4 separate regions of the Homo sapiens genome follow, and all the other regions are linked to region 1. The links are contacts of gene promoters, found by promoter capture Hi-C in blood cells and fetal thymus (Javierre and others, 2016). All regions are on one chromosome and are shown on one strand. Each heading gives the region's core, a stretch centred on a gene start or on the middle of the fragment in contact. The rest is flanking DNA. Distances are from core to core; before and after follow the strand shown.

What was found. Contacts are between HindIII fragments. The CHiCAGO score rates a contact against its expected background, and 5 or more counts as called.
Region 2: a contact is called between a fragment that was not itself captured here and the fragment with the promoter of METTL4 in region 1, in 4 of 17 cell types (M1 macrophages, megakaryocytes, M0 macrophages and 1 more). The highest score is 6.2, in M1 macrophages.
Region 3: a fragment that was not itself captured here is called in contact with the fragment with the promoter of METTL4 in region 1 in 1 of 17 cell types (naive CD8 T cells); the score reaches 7.3 in naive CD8 T cells.
Region 4: a fragment that was not itself captured here is called in contact with the fragment with the promoter of METTL4 in region 1 in 1 of 17 cell types (fetal thymus); the score reaches 5.2 in fetal thymus.

What each region holds. Positions count from the first base shown.
Region 1 is chr18:2,570,147-2,572,945 of GRCh38, forward strand. It overlaps METTL4 (methyltransferase 4, N6-adenosine), which reads right to left and starts at 1,359. Exons shown (of 9, transcript NM_022840.5): 1 at 1,003-1,359. It overlaps NDC80 (NDC80 kinetochore complex component), which reads left to right and starts at 1,411. Exons shown (of 17, transcript NM_006101.3): 1 at 1,411-1,537. RefSeq lists enhancers at 452-1,374, 1,257-1,416. The HindIII fragment of the contact is 2,186 bases long and covers 1,113-2,799 here.
Region 2 is chr18:848,963-851,964 of GRCh38, forward strand. No RefSeq gene overlaps it. Among named protein-coding and RNA genes, the nearest start is that of YES1, 38 kb to the left of the region's middle. The HindIII fragment of the contact is 7,135 bases long and covers 1-3,002 here.
Region 3 is chr18:742,345-745,425 of GRCh38, forward strand. It overlaps YES1 (YES proto-oncogene 1, Src family tyrosine kinase), which reads right to left. Exons shown (of 12, transcript NM_005433.4): 7 at 916-1,071; 8 at 574-753. Among named protein-coding and RNA genes, the nearest start is that of ENOSF1, 31 kb to the left of the region's middle. The HindIII fragment of the contact is 1,130 bases long and covers 686-1,815 here.
Region 4 is chr18:3,663,725-3,666,580 of GRCh38, forward strand. All of the region lies in intron 7 of DLGAP1 (DLG associated protein 1), which reads right to left. Among named protein-coding and RNA genes, the nearest start is that of DLGAP1-AS6, 12 kb to the left of the region's middle. RefSeq lists a silencer at 2,045-2,339. The HindIII fragment of the contact is 2,180 bases long and covers 400-2,579 here.

The sequences.
Region 1 (2,799 bases), core at 109-2,608:
ACATGTGATCATCCTTCCATCTATTGGAGTCTAGCTTGAAATGTGACAACCGGAACCAAAAGAACCTTGAATTTGGTGCCTACTTTGGTTTTGGTGCTGCTGCTTCTCAAGATCCTCAGCAGGGATTAAGAAGTTGGGGTGCACAGCAGGAATATCAGGAAATTGGCAGGCTTGACTTCCTGGCAAATTGCTAGCAGGACCACTAAATGCTGAACTGTACTGTGAATGTATACCGAAATACAAGCAATTATTTCTGTACTAAAGGTGTTTTTAATTTTGTATTTGTGTAAAACCACCTTTGGAAGCAGCAACTATCTAGTCAGAAAAGCAAATGATGTTTCCATTAATCTTTTCTGGGGAAAACATTAGTGCTAAGGATTTAACAATCTGTAGGTAAAGTTTAACCTAACAGTATTCCACAAGGAGACTTTTTATTATCAGACGGTTGCCTAATTTTCATATAATTTTTATATTAATATAATCCTTGGTTCCTCCCCATCCCCTTCATAGGCCACAGCTGAGGTGAAAAGGGTCCTGGAATGGCTAGTGAGAGCTAGAAATTCAGACGGGAAAATTGAAACTCAGAGCAGAAAGGCAAGCTGCCCAAAAATAACAACGCTAGTTAATGGCACAATTGCTACCAGACCCAAGTATCCAGACTTCCTGGAGCTGTGAGATCTTTCATCACCACCACTCTCCAGGTACCGGGCAGTGCCTGTTTCTGGATTCAAACTCACAGCAGCGAGGAAATCCTATTTTAGCAAAGTGATCTACTGTTACTGTTGTTAGTGCACCCCTCTCCTGCGTCTCTGCTTCACATCCACTCCCTCGCCGCCCGCCCCCAAACACTTGGATTCTTCCTAGCCTCTCACAGGTCAGCCACCACCAGAGGACCGTGAGCCTCCGGCAAGTGATCAAATACTGAGCCCGAATTTCGGCAGCCGTACCAACGCAATCCTGGGAGCCCATTCCACCCACTCCGCAGCCCCTCTCCCACCTCACCTCTTCCCTTGTCAGAAAAGCGGACGCCGCCTTCCCAGACTCTCCTCATGAAAACAGCACCCATCTAAATAGTGATCATGAAAAATGCCCCTTCCAGTCCACAGAGAAAAAGCTTTCTCCTTTTCTAAGAGTCCATGGGCGCCGCCATGTTGCTGTACGGAAAAACGTTTCCAGGGCGAGTTGAGCGTTCAGGGCACTCCTCGGCGCTCAAGCTGCCCACAGGTCTTCCGACCTAACTTTAGGGGTCGTGCCAGTCTTCGTAGAGACGGCCACACTGGCCCACAGACCCCAGTTCCTGGGGTGACGCAGCTGGGCGCGACCAGCACGCAGCCTTCCAGCGACGAGGCGGTCGCATGGAAGTTACTGCGCGCGTCGTGCGTAATGACGTCAGCGCCGGCGGAGAATTTCAAATTCGAACGGCTTTGGCGGGCCGAGGAAGGACCTGGTGTTTTGATGACCGCTGTCCTGTCTAGCAGATACTTGCACGGTTTACAGAAATTCGGTCCCTGGGTCGTGTCAGGAAACTGGAAAAAAGGTGACTGAATGACATCGGATTAACTTTGTTTCTGCAGAGCTGTTCTGGAGGAAGAAAGTGATGGCGCCAATGACTTAAATTTAGAGGTCCTGAGGCGATGTTTTGGTGTTTGTTTGCTGTTGGGAGAAGCCTCGAGGCCAAAACTGTGCGAGGCGCTGGTTTCACGGGATCTATTAAATTTCTAGTGGCAACGATTTCCCAAGGAGGAAAGGGGAGGGCCTGGGGGACACTGATGAGGAGTGGAGGCTCGGGAGAGGAAACGGGGAAGAATTGAAGGGGGCGGAAAGAGATGGACAAGAGAGGACTCGTTGGGTGGGTTGCGTCTGAATACTAGTGTAGCTTCTTATGGCCGTGTAGGACTGCGTGTAGAAGTCTTCATCTTAAATCATGAGAGCTACATTCTAAGTGGAGATTAAACGTGGACACACAGGTGTGAGTGGAAAAGTTGAATAGATGAACAAGCGCATATTGAAGAGGAAATAGGCGGCCAAAATCAAGAAGAGTCTAATCAGTGTAAAAGACTAAGGAGTACCCAGAGAAGTAAAAGGATTGTCACCTTCCTGAAAGCCAGGGCAGGACCTGAGAAGGCTGGGTGCAGAGATGAGACAGGATCAAAAGTTTTGTCAATCATGTGTATCCTAGGAGACAAATTTTTTAGCAGATGTGAAGGGAGTGACCTGTTAATGTGGTTTGTAAATGGAGGCAGCCTATAGACCATTTTATGGACCGGATGATTTATCCTTGTTGAAGGGGAGATTGATGCCAAAAGGGCAGTAATTGAGGAAACAATGGGTTAAGGACAGAGCAGGAGAGATTGACATTAGGAAAACAGAATAATTCCATTCTCTGAAACCAAAGAAAAGGAAACATTTTGAGGTGAATAAGAGAATTTGAGGTAATTTTTTTGTCTTCCTATTGAAATAGGCACAGCCAACAGCAGTAATGTGGTCTGGGTAACAGACAGGGCTTTAGCTACCACGGATACCCTTGTGAAGGCAAAAACCGTAACTTACTCGTCTTTGCATCTCCTGCATTGCCTAGCACACTCCCCTATATATATAGTGGGCAGTTAATAAATGTTTATGTTGAATATTTTTAAATGGAATTAAATAGATGTTCCTTGCAAATGAGAACTTCAGTGTACATGAACAAAAAAGAGATACCCCAGGGGAAAGATGATGATCTTGAAGAAACAATGAAACCTGACTGTCTTTCTGTTTAAGGATAAATAGTTGCTTAATGTACCATCTCTGTCTGGAAAG
Region 2 (3,002 bases), core at 10-2,509, 1.7 Mb before region 1:
TGGACTCTAAAACCTATACTTTTAGCACTTTGAAGACAAATTTGTTTCTTCCATGTTTTATGATATGGATTTATCAACAAAGCCCTTCTCTTTGAGTTTCTGAGCGGATCCAAAGCTGTTTTTTGAGAGAAATAATTGGTTCTGGCGGCACCCCTGAGGAAGCAGGACAGGCTTGTCTCTGGCAAGAAAATAAATCACGTTCCTCCATTTTCCCAGCACTTGCAGTCCTGCCATCTGCATGTCTGGGGCCTAAGACATGTGTGTTTTCTTCTACTCACAACACAGAAGACTGGCATTTACTCACTCACCACTGAGTTGGTTGCAACTCAGCATTTGACAGAAGTTTGCTTGTGACATCTGGTGAGACAGGGAGGGAGAAAGAGAGAGAAAGGAATAATTTTAATGTGAAAGAAGATTCGTGGGAGTTATATTTGTCTGGTGTTCTAGGGTATCTGTTATCTGACTGTAATATATTAGGTGATCAGAAATAATGTTTTTTTTTTGAGACAGAGTCTTGTTCTGTCACCCAGGCTGGAGTGCAGTGGTGTGATCTTGGCTTACTGTAACCTCCACCTCCTGAGTTCAAGCGATTCTCCTGCCTCAACCTCCCGAGTAGCTGGGATTACAGGCGTGTGCCACCATGCCCAGCTAATTTTTGTATTTTTAGTAGAGACGGGGTTTCGCCATGTTGGCCAGGCTGGTCTCGAACTCCTGACCTCAGGTGATCCACCTGCCTCGGCCTCCCAAAGTGCTGGGATTATAGGTGTGAGCCACCACGCCCATCCTAGAAATATTTTTTGACTGTCTGTGTGTGTGTGTGTGTGTGTGTGTGTGTGTGTGTGTGTAGTCCTATTTCCCTTAGAAATATCAATATAAAAGTAACCAAAAAAACACTGTTAGGTGAAATTGCTTGTAATGTCTGTCATTTTACTAGTTACTAAAGCTGCTTTAATTGATCCTGCAGGAATGACAGGTATCTCCTTTTCTCACTCTTTGGGGTCTGCCTCATGAAACTGGATGTTTGGTGGAGGAGGTCGTTCTTTTCAGATACAGAAGGCTGGTTCCTTAGTGAAGGTATACAAATGTCTGGGCTTTCATACTCATTAGAATAATTATTCACTATCTTATTTGAGGTATTTATATAAGCATCCCTGTGAGAAATTCCTGCTGAAGTCCAGTTCACTTTTATGAAACAATTCATGTACCTTATTCCAGTTGGAAGTGAGACCTCTAACTTAATATCTTTTTTTTTTTGAGACAGACTTTCGCTGTTACCCAGGCTGGAGTGCAGAGGTGCGATCTGGGCTCACTGCAACCTCCGCCTCCTGGGTTCAGGCGATTCTCTTGCCTCGGCCTCCTGAGTAGCTGGGACTACAGGCCCCTGCCACCATGCCCGGCTAATTTTTGTATTTTTAGTAGAGATGGGGTTTCACCATGTTGGCCAGGCTGGTCTTGAACTCCTGACCTCAGGTGATCTGCCTGCCTCCACCTCCCAAAAATGCTAGGATTACAGGTGTGAGCCACTGCACCTGGCCCTCTAACTAAATATCTTTGCTTTATTGTTTTGGTTATCAGAAAATTCAGGGCCAAATGAGTGCTCAGTTGTACTGCTTGATTCCTAACAGATGCTAAGTACACATATGGTTCTTTAAAATAATAATATTATTATTATTTAGACAGGGTCTTGCTCTGTCGCCCATGCTGGACTGCAGTAGCATGATCATAGCTCACTATGGCCTCCAACTCCTGGGCTCAAGTGATCCTCTCACCACAGCCTCCTGAGCAGCTGGCACTATAGGTATGAGTCCTCATTTTTGAGTCCCTGGCCCATGTTTAATTTCAATTGTCATTGTCAGTTTTAATATGTTGTAAGTTATCTAAGACACCCCTCCTATTTTTTTTTTTTGGCAATAGGCATGGCATTTTCCCATGCGTTACTTGCTAATTGCAAAGGGCAAAATACCTTTGAAATGGAGACATCTGGCTTTTACTACCCCAACGTAGCAAATCAATTTAAAAATTACTAATAGTGGACCAGTCAGGCAGTATATGATTCTTGATGTAAATATTAACCTGAATAAGAGGAAGCCTTTACATCTTACTTCCAATTCCTGGAAATACAGGGGATAGAGAAACAAGCCAAACAATATCACAAAGAAATAAAGTCAAACCTGGAATGTGGGAGACTGTATTAGTTGGTGCAAAAGTAATTGCGGTTTTTGCCATTAGTTGGTTTGGACTTGCTCATGTGGCCATTCCAGCCCAGACAACCTTCTATGGGACTGCCACATAAGCAAGTCCAAAACCGAGCAATGGCAAAAGTGGTAATTACTTTTGCACCAACTAATGCAATGCAACTAGCCAGGTCGCCTAAAACACTTAATTTCATGAAAATAATTGGGGAGATGGAGTCTGTTCTAGAATAAAAGAGATGGGACGATGTACAGAAACTAGATTAACTTTCATTACTGGTGAGAATGTAAAATAGTACAGCCTCTCTGGAAAATAATTAATGTTTCCAGTATGTGATCCAGCAATTCCGTTCCTAGGTATCTACCCAAGAGAAAATATATGTGAACACGAGGACTTGTATATGAATACTCATAGTAGCATTATTATTATTATTATTATTTTTGAGATGGAGTCTCACTCTGTCACCCAGGCTGGAGTGCAGTGGCAAGATCTCAGCTCACTGCCACCTCCGCTTCCTGAGTTCAAATGATTCTCCTGCCCCAGACTCCCGAGTAGCTGGGATTTATAGGCATGTGCCACCACACCCAGCTGTTTTTTTTGTTTGTATTTTTAATAGAGATGGGGTTTCACCAGGTTGGCCAGGTCATCTTGAACTCCCGACCTCAGGTCATCCACCTGCCTTGGCCTCCCAAAGTGCTGGGATTACAGGTGTAAGCCACTGCACCCCGCTCATAGTAGCATTATTTGTAATGATCAAAAACTGGAAACAATCCAAATGTCCATCAACTGGCAGATGAATAAAGAAAATG
Region 3 (3,081 bases), core at 1-2,500, 1.8 Mb before region 1:
ACAGTGGCTCATGCTGGTAATACCAGCACTTTGGGAGGCCAAAAAGGGAGGACTGCCTGAGGCCAGGAGTTCAAGACCAGCCTGGGCAACATAGTTGAGACCCCAGTCTCTATTTAAAAAAAAAAAAAAAAAGAAAGCAGTGGGGAAAAAAGTTCCTAGAAGTCCTGAATATAGGAATTATGTTTATATTAAAATGAGAAAACTAATTCATTTTAACTTTACCTTATTTCTTTGCTTTAGTACTAAAAATGTAAGTATCTTTCTGATTTTATCATTTTAATTAAATGTGTACAAACACTTTCTATTTTTCACCTTTCTAGCTTTTCCATTTGTTTTAGTCAAACTTAATTTCAAAATTAATTCAGCCTGCCTACTTTTCCTTTTAAACGTCATACTATCCTCTGGAATAACTGGATAATCACTATTCCATTAAACAAAGTGTCAGGTTTCTTCTATCCAAATATGTCTACATAAAAATCTTAAATTAGAAAACAGTATAAGTCTATATGCATACAAATCAAGACTCTTAAAAACATTATCAACACAAATACCTAAGGAGATACTAATACATACCTTTTGACATAAATTCAGTGACAATGTAAATTGGTTCTTCAGAAACAACAGCATATAGTGGAACAAGTTTATCATGTCTTAATTTTTTCATTATCTGAGCTTCTTGAAGGAAAGCTTCTGGCATCATTGTACCTGGTTTTAGTGTTTTGATTGCTACTTTCGTGGTTCCATTCCATGTTCCTAAAGAAATAACACATTTTAGGAATTTATATTTTAAAGGATTTTAGACCAAACTTCAGTGAACAGCACTTCTCTTAAATATTGAAACATATTTTATCATAAATTGTTGCACTTTAATCCACAGCTAAACAATGACAGAAAACAAAAATTCAGGCTTCTTACCCATCCACACTTCGCCGAAACATCCTTGTCCTAGTTTAACCTCTAGTCGCAAAGATTCTCGAGGGATTTCCCAAGCATCTTTTGCTAGACCTTGAGTCTGAGGTTTCACAGTTGGACACACAGTTGTCAACTTGTGGCATAAACCATCAGCATGTTCTAGATAAATGAATAAACTATACTGTAATATCAATTACAAAAATTAAGGGGCATATAGTGTATCAATGTTTTAAGTTTAAACTGTAGAAAAACAAAAACAGAAGTCCTTTCGAGTTTTACTCTAAAAGCACAAAACAAAAAGGGAGTTGTCCATAAGCAGCAAAACATGAAATATACATAAGTGAAACATTTTGTAAAATTTATTTTTAAGGCCGGGCAAGGTGTCTCACGTCTGTAATCCCAGCACTTTGGGAGGTTGAGGCAGATGAATCACGAGGTCAGGAGTTCGAGACTAGCCTGGCCAATACAGTGAAACACTGTCTCTACTAAAAATACAAAAGTTAGCCGGGCATGGTGGTGCATGCCTGTAGTCTCAGCTACTAAGGAAGCTGAGGCAGATGGATCGCATGAACCCAGGAGGCAGAGGTTGCAGTGAGCCAAAATTGCGCCACTGCACTCTAGCCTGGGTGACACAGTGAGATTCTGACTCGAAAAAAAAAAAAATATATATATATATACATGTTATTACTTACTACTTAGTATGTATATACTAATATATAGTAAATATATTGTATTTACTACTTAGTATGTATATACTAATATATAGTAGATATGTTAGTATATTTACTAAATACTTAGTATAACTTAAAATATATATTTTTTTAAGTTATTATTTACTAAATACTTAGTATGTTCCACTATTGTGCTAAATTAGCACTTCACAAGTATCTCATATATAAATGAAGCTTTGAAAACATACGCAACTTTCCCCTAAGGCCCTGCAGTTAGTAAATGGTAGAGATGGGATTCAAATCTAGGTCTGTCTGCTTCCAAAGTTCTGCCTTTGTACACTGGGTTTTATTAATTCTCAAAGAGAATGTTATCATTAAATGTTATTATCTAATAGCCACTAATTTGTAAGAGGCATACCAAAAAATCAAGGAAAAAGTTCATTTAGGATCATTTAGGAGATTTTTTCTTTTTTTTTTTTTGAGATGGAGTCTCACTCTGTCGCCCAGGATGGAGTGCAGTGGTGTGGTCTCAGCTCACTGCAACTTCCACCTCCCAGGTTCAAGTGATTCTCCTGCCTCAGCCTCCCAAGTAGCTGAGCCTACAGGTGCATGCCACCACGCCTGGCTAAATTTTTTTATATTTTAATAGATAGGGTTTTGCCATGTTGCCCAGGCTGGTCTCAAACTCCTGACCTCAAGTGATCTGTCTGTTTCGGCCTCCCAAAGTGGTGGGATTACAGGAGTGAGCCACCACGCCTGGCCTTTTTTTTTTTTTTTTTTTTTTTTTTAAGAGATGAGGTCTTGCTATGTTGCCCAGGCTGTTCTTGAACTCCTGGCCTCAAGTGATCCTCCTGCATCAGTAGTTGGGATTAAAGGCACAATCCACATGCCTAACAGGAGACTGATTTTTTTAAATAAGGGAGACACAAAGTCAGGGAACCCTAGATTCATAACAGCTTGACTTATGAATTCTGCTTATACAATCTTTCTTATTATAAATGAGACATGTTCTCTCCTATTCTCACTAAAATAACCACATAAATTCACATTGTGACAAAGGCAATTACAAGTGATGCCACTGCTTGGTAACATGCTTGATCAATGTCAAGATTGCTGGCTGACTTGATAGACTCAGTTTGCAGCTAGCTGTCATTGAAGACATTACCATGGAAACATCCCCTCTCCTAGTATTAATCATGTAAAGACTTTCAGGTGCATTCATATGCCAAATTGGTAATGAAAAATTTTGAGACAGAAGATTCTAATATTAAATACCTTCAGAGGTCCTTGAAAGACAAAAATGTCTATAATTGCTATAGGTTAATTTTCTAGGATAAGAAAAATGCATCGTCAGACCAAATTTCACTGGATTTATACTTTAGGAAAGCTTATGCGATCCAGCCCATGCAGAGGAAGGTAATCCTTCTGACATAGCTTTTTCTGTTACCCAATGTTTAGTTTTACTTACTAAGTGCCCATAAATATTTGCTTTTAGGTT
Region 4 (2,856 bases), core at 240-2,739, 1.1 Mb after region 1:
TGCCAGGCATGTGAATAATGCTGTCTTGGACTCTCAAGACCAGCCCAACTGTGATGGTTAGTTTGTGTGTCAACTTGACTGGGCCATGAGGTGCCCAGAGATTTGAACAAACATTATTTCGAGTGTGTGTGAAGGTGTTTCTGGATGAGATTAACATTTGGATCAGTTCATTGAGTACAGCAGACTTCCCTTCCTAAGGTGGGTGGGTCTTGTCCAATGAGTTGAAGTCCTGAATAGAACAAAAAGACAAAGTAAGAGAGAATTCTCTGTCTCTGCTGGGACATCAGTCTTCTCTTCCCTTTGGACTTCGACTTGAACTGGAACTTACACAATTGTTCTCCATGTTCTCAGGTCTTTGGACCCAGATTGGAACTATACCATTGGCTCTCCTGGGTTTCAAGCTTGCTTGCTGACTGCAGATCTTGGGACTTCTCAGCCTCCATAATTATGGGTCAGTATACACACACACACACACACACACACACACACACACCCACACACACACACACACACGGATATACTACTTCTCTGGAGAACTCTGACTAATACACCAACTTCTAGCTGAATGTGGAACAGAAGAATTGCCCAGCTGAACCCTGCCTAAATTCCTGATTCAAAATCATAAGGTATAATATAATGATTGTTTTTCAGCTGCTCCACATTGGGGTAATAAGGTATGTAGCAACAGATGACAGACATAGTCAGCTGTGCATACATTTTCTGACTACACATGTGCCCTGTCCCTTAGCTCTTGGTACTCCAGCCACATCACCCTTTCAGTTCTACTAATATTGAATGCAGAATTAGCACGTGCCATCCCTCACCCTTCTTGATCCTTTGACTCTTAGCTAATGAGGATTTTCTCAGGGAAGTTCTCCCTGAGCCTCTAGATTAGTCCCTTTGTTACAATAGATCCTCCCACAAGAACTGTCTCTTTCTTTCAGCGCAGTTATCTCTGTGATTATTTGATTGACGCTAGTCTCTACCCCTAGATGGTAAACTCCATGAGAACAAAGGGTAAGACTGCTTTTGATCACCAGTGAATTCCCCGAGTTCAGCACCATGTCTGGACATAGTAAGTGCAGAATAAATATTTGTTAAGAAGGTGAATGAAATATTTGAAGCAGCTGATAAAGACTCCCTTCTCACCATAGCTTTTAATAACCATGTCAATATTCTTTTCTTTGCACCTTGTGAAAATCTGGGTTCTCAGCCATTGTAACTGGGAAAGACTGTGACTTAATATGAGGCCACTGGTCCTACTATGCTATTGTCTGTGACGGCAGCTAAGCACAACTGAAGTTGCTGGAGTTCCTTTTTGTAACCGCTGGGGAAGAGGAAGCACAAGAGAGCCTCTGGGTGTGTGGGCGCAGGAATGCATAGAGAAAAAAGTAATTAGTGCCTGTTCACATTTATGTCTTTAGTTGGAAATTAGGGAGCTCTCCTAAAAGTCTAAAGAAAATCGTGGATGCTCAAACTGTTTAAAATGTTTCTAAATTTAAGTTTAGAAACAATTTGTTACTAGATCAGGAGCTCTTCCCCCTCCCCCCAACCCCTTCCTCTAAAAATGGAAGAAATAATTGCTGCTTCCTTAGTGCTGTTAGGAAAATTCTGTACCTTCCATAACCATTGCTCTCAGTATTATTTTCTTAATACCTAATCTGAATTCCTACTGTTTTAAAATGCATTCCCCTACTTAGCTCTACGGATATGGAAAATACATGCTCCGCTGGGAATAGTCTTTCTTAAAATATATCTGCTCTGCTTAAAGATTAGTTTATCATTTTTGCCACATATAAAATAAGCTCAGGTCTCTACAAGTGCCCTTGTAATTTCCATTTCATAAATTTAAAAAATATTTTGTTTTACCTCGTTATATTTCTAATAGTGACCTCCAAATGGGTCTGTGTACGATATTTCATTAAATGGGTTTAGTAGGCTTCCAAAGGGAGAAAAGAGGATTTCCATTTCTGCATAATATTCTTGCTCTTTTAAGAAGAAAACACCTCTACAGTGGCAGGGCTAATATGTCGACAGGCATATTCCGTATCATTTATGTAAGTTAACACATTCTGAGGCTCTGCCCATTTCCACTTCTCTGATTTGTCCTCCCTCCCTGAGTGCACAATACTGCATTTGTCCCTTTTGAACATGTAACAGATTAAAGAGCTGGGCAGGAGGCAGATGTAGGGGCACCTTTGATCTCTCATCCTTGGAGGTTAAGGGAGGGCAGACACCTGGCGGCTGCCGAGCTGGAAACAAAACACAGGCCCAGACTGGAATTACCTTAAAGGGAGCCCGGCTCCAACCGCAGAGGCAGCTGGAAGCGCTGAATGGGCACCGGGGGAAGAGAGCCCCGCGGTCAGGCAGAGGACGCAACAGAGTCCTAACAATGTGATCCAGGCTACCCGAGAGCTGGTTAGAATAATCCTTCCTACGCAGAAAGACCCAGGAAACCTTCCAGGAAAGACTAGGCAGCCGCATTGAGAAAAAACGAAAAGTAAATCTTTTGCAAATAATATCACAAAACTTCCAGCTGTGCACAAATACTGAAGGGCAATTTTGATGACAATGCAGGAAGCTTTCAAAGAAAGGATTTTTAAACATATTTTTTCCTTGGCGGAACTCTTTTTAGTAAGGATTTCCACCTTTGCCCCAGGATCCTGCCAATGTTCTTAGTCAAAGCCAGACCCGAGTTTCCTAGGATTCTTCGGTGAAACTGCATTGCCCCCTGGCGTTTGTGTGCTGTCATTACGCCGCACAGATAAAGCCCATGGAACACCTACCAATCCGAGGAAGGATGCAGCTCCTGGTTTCATCTACATGGAGAAACCTCTCTTAAAACACAGGATCAGA